Regions from separate parts of the Homo sapiens genome. Here region 2 is linked to region 1. The links are contacts of gene promoters, found by promoter capture Hi-C in human tissues and cell types (Jung and others, 2019). All regions are on one chromosome and are shown on one strand. Each heading gives the region's core, a stretch centred on a gene start or on the middle of the fragment in contact. The rest is flanking DNA. Distances are from core to core; before and after follow the strand shown. Region 1 holds the start of TMEM200B (transmembrane protein 200B). Region 2 overlaps EPB41 (erythrocyte membrane protein band 4.1).

The links. Contacts are between HindIII fragments. The study calls those that stand out against the background at their distance.
Region 2: a contact is called between a fragment that was not itself captured here and the fragment with the promoter of TMEM200B in region 1, in 2 of the 25 tissues and cell types used here (H1 embryonic stem cells and heart left ventricle).

What each region holds. Positions count from the first base shown.
Region 1 is chr1:29,121,442-29,125,877 of GRCh38, reverse strand. It overlaps TMEM200B (transmembrane protein 200B), which reads left to right and starts at 1,975. Exons shown (of 2, transcript NM_001003682.4): 1 at 1,975-2,022; 2 at 4,030-4,436. The coding sequence starts at 4,050. RefSeq lists enhancers at 1-841, 842-1,701, 1,702-2,561 and a silencer at 4,241-4,436. The HindIII fragment of the contact is 25,455 bases long and covers 1-4,436 here.
Region 2 is chr1:29,024,078-29,028,551 of GRCh38, reverse strand. All of the region lies in intron 7 of EPB41 (erythrocyte membrane protein band 4.1), which reads right to left. Among named protein-coding and RNA genes, the nearest start is that of TMEM200B, 98 kb to the left of the region's middle. The HindIII fragment of the contact is 6,076 bases long and covers 1-4,474 here.

The DNA of each region.
Region 1 (4,436 bases), core at 726-3,225:
GCAAGGGCACGACCAGGGGGTAAGTGTTCCTGCCGGAAAGCAAGGACCAACCAAGCCCTGAGGGAGTGTAAGAGGCCCGGGGCCAGTTCGTGGAGACAAGAAGAGATTTCCAACTCGATTTGGGGAGTCACTGATGGTTTTAAGCAGGTAGTGGCAGGCTCAGATTCAGAGTGGAAACCCTTGCTGCCTGTCTGCAGCGCACTAGGACACGGGGAGGCAGGAGACCATGGGCTCCAGGAGGAGCCTGGACGCCGGAGCAGGACAGTGGCCATGGGAAAGGGAGAACGTGGCTGGCCCCAGATGAAAAGAGCAGGGCCCCCAAGGCTCTGTGAGTGGGATGAGAGGGGGAGAGGAAGGGGCCAAGGCTGACCCCGTGCTTGGGTGGACAAAGGGCCCTTCACAGAGCTGGAGGCAGGGGATGATCGAGGGGCCCAGGGAGTCAGACTAGAAGCCGGGCTTATTGGAGGAAGAGCAGTGGGCTGGGAGAGGCAGGCATGGAGTGGGATTGAGGGAGCCCAGGGGTGGGAGGGAGAGCTGGGAGGCGGAGGTGCGACCGCGGTGGGGTCAGTGTGCGGGGAGTGGACGAAGCGGAGGATTGATGGGGGCGGGGGTCCCAAGCAAAGATGCTGGAGGGAGGCCTCCGTGGAGCGGACCGAGACCTCAGGAGCCTCCAGTCGGACTGGGGAGGCAAGAAGGAGGCCCTGGCTTCGATCTCGCACACGGCCTCGCAGGGATGAAGCCCGGGAGCCGAGGCTCGGTCTTCCCCACTGTGGTCCCTCTGGTCCGCCCGTTACCTCACCGACCCCCCGAGGGGGCTTTTAAGAGCTGGAAGAGGGGGTCCCGGGGGGCACTGATGCACCCCCACTCTCCTCCGCCGACCCAGAGGGTGGGAGCTCAGGTTCAAGGCCTGGCCTGGCCGTGCGGCTCCGGGACCCGGCTCCGCCCCGCGTCGGGGGGTGGCCCCGGCCCCTGGCCCGCCCCTTCCTCGGGTCCCCTCCCTGTCCGCGGCGCGCAGCCGGGTCTCATTAGCGCCCCTCCCCCCGGCTGCGCGCCGGGGGTCTCCACGGCCGGGGGGAGGGGCGGGCCTTAATCAATCCTAGGCCGGAAATTCCTCCCGGGGGGCCCGGCCTGACCGCTGAGCCTGGAAATCGGTCGCCGCCTCCCCCGAACCCGCCCCCCGCATCATGGAAACTGGGCCGACCGCCGGCCGCCCTGGCTCCCCCGCTCTGCATTCCTGCCTCCAGGGGCGGGAGGGCGCGAAGGCCGGGCCGCCCCCTTCGGGCTCGCCGGCGGGGTCGCAGCTCTCAGCACCCTCCCCGTTATTGGGAACAAGCCCGCTCCCCCACTGGCGAAGGGGCGCCTGTTCTTAGGAGTACCCGGCGGCACATCCGCACCCCGTCCGGTCCTTTCAGCTACAAGGCCCGCCCCTCCCCGGGCGCTGCTTTCGCTGAGGGCTTTGCGGAGTCGCCCCGGGCTGGCCCTTGGCGTCTGGCTCTTGCCTCTCGGCATCTTGCGAGGCTGAAGCCTTGGTGCCCATTGCACAGATGAAGTCCGCGAGGTTCAGCGACAGCAAGGGCTGCGGGACCGGGGCAGAGCAGGGACTCGGGCCGCCTCCTCCTGGAAGCTCCCCGGGCGCCTGGGATGAGGGGCTCTGGGAAGCGGGGAAGGACGTGCGGGTGTCGGGGCTCCTGGGTCCCGGGTCTCAGTTTCCCCATGTAGGAAGGGGTCGCCTTTGTGGGCCTTTGCGACCGATGTAAGCTGGGGGTGGGAGAGTGGGGATGGCAGAACTCGGGCCACGGGTGCCCGGAGTCACCAGGCGCGCACAGGGCGCCTACCTGCGATCCTTTGACCTGAGCTGCCGCCTTTCAGCGGCGGTGGGGCCGGGCCCGGCGCGGGTCGGACGGTCCCGGGGGCTGGAGGCGGGGCCGGGGCGGGGCTGGGGCCGGGCCGTGGAGACCCGGGCGGCTCTGGAGCCTCCGCGCGCGGACTGGGACCCGGACCCGCGCGGCGCTGCGGCGCCAGGTGAGCCGAGCTGGGGTCCAGGGGTCCGCACTCCACTTTTCCCAACTTTTCGTTTGGTCCCTCCCTCCCTCCCTCCCTCCCTCGGTCAGGGCCCCTGGGGGCGGGAGCGCGGCCCTCCCGTTCCCCCAGGCGGGAGTGTGGACGCGGGCGGTGGCGGGACCCTGGAGTCCTGGGGACTCGGCCCCAGCATCTTCTGTCGGGCTGTGCGCTGTGTCCCCAAGTTTCCGCCTCCCTGGTGTCCCCAGCGTCGGCCCACTACCTCCACGGCTCGGGGTCTCTGAGCGTGTCCCCATGTCCCCACTCTGCTTGTTTTCGCTTCCCTCGCGGCAGCGACGCGCGGGGCTCCGGGTGACCTTGCTGGAGCCGGGGCTGAGAGCGCCAGTTCTGGCTTGAAGCGATGATCGCTCCTCCGGTTGCGGGCTGGGGAAAGGGCTGCAAACTCAGGGACAAGGAGGGGATGGGCCTCGCTTCCTCCTGGATACTCCCGTGGCTGTCCTGAGAGGGGTCTAGGGCTGGGGCCCCGGAGCCCGGCGTCGGACCTGGCAGAGCCCCCGCCTAGTGCGGGGTCGGGCAGTCTCCCCGGCCTCCCTGGGCCGTAGTTGCAATCTGTGAAACCAGGCTTTGGACGCGGGAGAGTGGCGGCTCCCTGCTAGGCCCGGGCCTTGAGCGCTCCAGTCGGAGGCAGGGATGGGTGTCCTGCTTTGAGGTTTGGGGTGCAGATGGGGCGTGGGTCGGGGAGCAAGGCCGCCTCCCCGAGGTTTCGGCTGCGGGCTCCAGCGCGGTGGTTCTTTAGGAAGCGGACGCGAGCAGTGAGGACGACCCTGGACAGCTAGGCCCTGAGCCTCCTCTCCTGCGGCCTGGGGCGCCTGGGCGGGGGCCGCGTCTTCTCCCTCGCCCTCCCTTTCGTGGGGGCCACACCGCACGCAGCTCGGCTACTCCTGCTGGGCCCGGGATCCAGGCCACAGGCCGCAGGCAGGGCGCGGCCAGCAATCGGGAGGGCTTAAGCTGTGCGGCCCGGATCCCGAGGCGCAGGGGCGGTGCTGCTCTGACCGGGCCACGGGCCACGGAGGCCTCGGGCGGAGGAGGCGGGAAAGGAGGCCAGGCGGCGGGAAAGGGGGATGATTCATCCGGAGGAGCCCGAATTGGAAACGTCGCAACCTGGGAACAGCCTTGCCCGGGCCGACGGGGGAGCCGGGAGGGCATCCGTCCGGCGGGGCCCAGCGCCCGGCACCGGCACCCCCGCCTGCTGCCGTGGCCCCAGCACGACCGCTGGGGGAGGGAGAGGCCTCTCATGCGTGGACTTGATGGAAATCTTGGGCGAAGTCGGCGCCGCCTCTCCTCCTCTGCCTGGCTGGTCTTGATCCGAGCGGTCTTCCCGGTGTCTAGCTCAAGTCGCTCCTGCTGCAGCTTCGCTGCGGGCGGAGGAGGTCTGGAAGGAGGGGGCGGGCAGGGAGAGGCTGGAGCCGGTGACGCCCCCTCCTCCCGCGCTGCGGTATGTAAAGCACAGTAGGGGGGAGGTGGGGCCCGGCGAGCGACCCCTGCGGACCTGGGAGGCCCGAGCGCCCCCGCCCCATTTGCTACGGTGCAGCCACGTGCGGGGGTGGGGTCGAGCCCGGGAGGTACTTACCCTGGAGACGCGGCAGCTGGGGGCCGCACGTTTCCCGAGGCCCAAGACCCGCGGGCTTGCGGACCGGACGCAGGCGGCAGATTTGCAGCCCGGGATGCGCCAGGGAACAGCCTGCGCCCCCCTCCCTCCTCTCCGCCCGCTGGCCGGGCCAACTCCGGCTTCTGCCGCGCGTGCCTGGCTCGGAGCTCCGCTGCGGAAAACCCGAGCGCGGGCGGCTCCCCGCCTCGCCGCCCGGGAAAATCCGGGGGTGGCCGCCAGGGATCTCCAAGCGGCCTGGGCTGGGCGGCCGGAGCTTCCCTCCCGGATTTGCGCCCCGAACCTGGCGCCCTGAAGCTAGAGGCCCGTCGGTCCAGTCCTTGCCTCCCATCTTCTCTCCGCAGAGCGCCCAGACGACGGCGAGATGACGGCCGGGAGCCCCGAAGAATGCGGGGAGGTGCGGAGGAGCCCCGAGGGCCGCGTCTCTCGCTTGGGCCGCCGCCTGGGCCGCCGCCGGCGCCCGCGCTCCCCGCCCGAGCCTCTGCGGGTGCGGGCGCGGCTGCGGCTGCGCTCGCCGTCGGGGGCGTTCGCGGCGCTGGGGGCGCTCGTGGTACTGGTGGGTATGGGCATTGCAGTGGCCGGCTACTGGCCGCACCGGGCCGGGGCCCCAGGGTCCCGGGCCGCCAATGCCAGCTCGCCCCAGATGAGCGAGCTGCGACGCGAGGGTCGCGGCGGGGGCCGGGCTCACGGCCCGCACGAGCGGCTGCGGCTCCTCGGGCCGGTGATCATGGGCGTCGGCCTGTTCGTGTTC
Region 2 (4,474 bases), core at 1,288-3,787, 98 kb after region 1:
CTCCCTCCATCTCCTCTATAAAACGAGAATCATAATAATGCGTATTTCTAGATACTAGGATAGGCAATGACTTTGTTTTTGCTGAATGAATGAATGTTACTATTGGGATCGAAATGAGATGATGGTTGTAAAACTGCTTTATAGACATGAATAGTTATTATTGCAGCCTTAGCTTTCTGATAGTCCAGTGGTTCATCTACACACAAATCATAAAATTAAGAGACACAATTTGGATCACTTGAATTTGAAGACAAATTTTAAAACATTAAGTAAAGCAATTATGATAAAATCTTCCCTATACTCACTCCTCCTACCCTACCCTAAGGGACATTAATAGGGTCAATCAATTTGAATACAGATTTAAATTTCACAGTATGTAGTTACATGCTTCTATAAATAAGCATGCTTTAAAAAATAAGGAGAGATCAGGCCTGGCGCGGTGGCTCACGTCTATAATCCCAGCACTTTGGGAGGCCGAGGCAGGCGGATCACCTGAGGTAGGGAGTTCAAGACCAGTCTGACCAACACGGAGAAACCCCGTCTCTACTAAAAATACAAAATTAGCTGGGCGTGGTGGCGCATGCCTGTAATCTCAGCTACTTAGGAGGCTGAGGCAGGAGAATCACTTGAACCTGGGAGGCAGAGGTTGTGGTGAGCCGAGATTGCGTCATTGCACCCCAGCCTGGGCAACAAGAGCGAAACTCCGTCTCACAAATAAATAAATAAGGGGAGATCTTTAAAACTTGTTAGTTGAAAATAATATTTATATTTGAAGTTTGGCTGATGTTTGCATTTAAAATTTTTTACCTAATTTTTAGCCAGGCTCAGTGGCATGCACCTATAGTCCTAGCTACTCTGGAGGCTGAGACAGGAGGATTGCTTGAGTCTATGAGCCTAGGCGACATAGAGAGACCTTGTCTCAGCCAGGCGCGGTGGCTCATGCCTATAATCCCAGCACTTTGGGAGGCCGAGGTGGGCGGATCACCTGAGGTTGGGAGTTTGAGACCAGCCTGACCAACATGGAGAAACCCCATCTCTACTAAAAGTACAAAATTAGCCGGGCGTGGTGGCACATGCCTGTAATCCCAGCTACTTGGGAGGCTGAGGCAGGAGAATCGCTTGAACCTGGGAGGCAGAGGTTTCGGTGAGCCGAGATTGCGCCATTGCACTCCAGCCTGGGCAACGAATGAAACTCCATCTCAAAAAAAAAAAAAATGTTGAGAGACCTTGTCTCTAAAAAAAGAAAAAGAATAATTTTAGCTGGGTGCAGTGACCTGTAGTCACAGCTACTTGGGAGGCTGAGGCAGGTAGATTGCTTGAGTTTAAGGCTGTAAGTGAGTTACAATCACACCTGTAAATAGCACTGCACTTCAGGTTGTTCAGGTTGCACAACATAACAAGGTCCCTTTACAATTCTTAAAAAAATGTAATTCTAACTTAAGAATTTTTTTTTTTTTTTTGAGATGGAGTCCCACTCCGTTGCCCAGGCTGGAGTGCAGTGGTATGATCTCGGCTAACTGCAACCTCTGCCTCCTGGGTTCAAGTGATTTTTCTGCCTCAGCCTCCCAAGTAGCTGGAACTACAGGCACCCGCCACCATGCCTGGCTAATTTTTGTATTTTTAGTAGAGATGGGGTTTCACCATATTGGCCAGGCTGATCTCAAACTCCTCACCTCGTGATCTGCCCAACTCAGCCTCCCAAAGTGCTGGGATTAAAGGTGTGAGCCAAAAAAAATTTTTTTTAAGAGACAAGGTCTTGCTCTGTCACCCAGACTGGAGTGCAGTGGCACCATCATGGTTCACTGCAGCCTTGACCTCCCAGGTTCAAGTGAACTCTTGGGCTCAAGCAGTCAGCCCACCTCAGCCTCTGAAAGTGCTGGAATTACAGGCATGAGCCACCATGCCCAGCCTTAAAATTTCAATTTATTTATTTATGTCAGTATGGACTCACGAATTTTCATTTTATTCAATGCAGTATATCAATTATTTTCCTTATCTATTTTGATGCTTAAATTGCCCCAGATTTGGTAGTGGGAACCTCTCCAAGCTGGATTCTGTGTCCTTCTGACCATTTCCCATCATTCTTCCAGTACTTCCTTCTGACACAATGTAGAGTTAGAGTATGTATCTGTGTATGTATCTACCTTTTTACATCTATATTTCTATATCTACCTATCTATATATTGGAAACCACAAGTTCACATTGAAGCCTCCAGTTTTAACGCAATATCCTAACAGGGTTCATTTTAGTTTCTCCCTTTCCATAATTTGTGTCTCACTTTACTGACAGTGAGAAACCTGGCTCCCATTACCCTGAATACATTGACTAATTTGATCAATCCCTCTGTATAATCATATAATCTCTCATTGCAGCCACAAACCCCTACTGTATGTGGATGTCCTCCTCACTCTACTTGAACCCTGAATTCCCCATTCTGGGCTACTCAGCACACGTGGATGTCCTCCTTACCTCACCAGGGTTCTGACTGCTGGTGTGGGACCATCTCTTCACCCTGCTTAGGCTTTGACACTGTGCATCAAGCACCACCCTGTATGGATGCCCTCCACATCCTGTGTAGGCTTTTCCCCCACATGGATGCCCTTCTTGCTCTGCTTGGCTTCTGAAACCCACCACCAGGTGCCCACACATGACTACCATCCTCATCCACTTGAGCTCTGACTCTTCATGCCAGGCTGCCCTCCAACCCACGGACCCACTCCTCACTCTGCTTAGGCCTCAATATCCCAAGCCAGACTGCCCCTCTGCATGGATGACTACCTTGCTCTGCCCCACCTAATGTTGCCAGAAAGCTTTATCTGATTATAAAAATCATACACATTCACTGTATAAAATTTGGAAAATATCATTAAAAGCATAGAAAATATATAATCTCACCACCCACAGACATCTGTGCATGTTAACACAACACATATATTTGAAAGATTAATATCACAAAATAAATTATTTTTTGCCTTAAATTTTAATGATCAAGGTTTTCCCTAAAATTTCCAAGACCTTTGAGCGTCATAACAAACCAGCTGGGAAGAGATTAGATACCTCTAAACCATTAAAAGTACTGTCTTGAATTTTTTCAGTACCACCTAATAATTTACTACTTGTAAGTACTGCAGCTTACAAAAGTACCTGACCAGGAAGCTCCGGCACTGGTTAAAGCTCATTAAAAAGAGAAGTTACAATAAAGTTTCCCTGCATTTATTTCAAGCAAGTGCAATCAGGATAGAGCTATTCGGTGTGTTCCAGTGTTATGTGACTCCCTTTTAATAATGTTTGTTATATCTCCTAATTAAGGATTGTGATTTCAAAGAATTAAGTGGGGGACAATAGACAAGTTTACATACCTTCCTAATACCAATAAATGGAGGGCAATTAATTTTAAAGCTTGATTTGCTAGTGTAAATTTAAAGTGTTAATTATAGCTTTAAAATCCCAGTCTGGGCAAAGGGCCACTACTAAGGATTCCATTTATGCAGGCTGTCTTCTATCTGAGAAGTGCTTGTACTGCACTTTCCAATGCATAGTAAAATGCATATGCCTCAGTGGAAGTTTCTTTGGATTAGTTAAAATGCCATGTTGTTGGACATAATTAAATTGTTCCTTTGGGTTTGTGAGGGTTGCAAATCTTTCCAAAAAGGAGCAAGTAAATTCCAAGATGACAGACTCCTAAATGTTCTGGTCACGGCGATCCATTATTGCTCAATTTCTACCACATCTCTAACAGAATATCAGCTGAACTATATCCATTTGTCCCTTGAGATTGTTTCACCTAATTGGGTTTACATTCTGATAAAGGTTAAAACTAGTTCTCCAAACCAAGACACATACATTCATCACTTGTGAAGTGAGGATAAGAATTTTTTTTTATTTATATTTATTTATATTTTTTATTTATTTATTTTTTGAGACGGAGTCTCGCTCTGTCGCCCAGCTGGGGTGCAGTGGTGCGATCTCGGCTCACTGCAACCTCCGCCCCTCCAGGTTTAAGCAATTCTCTGCCTCAGCCTCCGGAGTAGCTGGGATTACAGGCGCGTGCCACCAAGCCCGGCTAATTTTTTGTATTTTTAGTAGAGACAGGGTTTCACCATCTTGACCAGGCTGGTCTTGAACTCCTGACCTCGTGATCCACCTGCCTCAGCCTCCCAAAGTGCTGGGATTACAGGTGTGAGCCACCACGCTCGGCCTTTAATTTATTTATTTTTAGATGAAGTCTTACTTTGTCACCCAGGCTAGAGTGCAGTGGCATGATCTCGGCTCACTGCAACCTCCGCCTCCTGGGTTCAAGCAATTCTCCTGCCTCAGCCTCCAGAGTAGTTGGGACTACAGGTGCGCGCCACCATGCCCAGCTAATTTTTGTATTTTCAGTAGAGATGGGGTTTCACCATGTTGGCTAGGATGGTCTCAATCTCTTGACCTCGTGATCCACCTGCCTTGGCCTCCCAAAATGCTGGGATTACA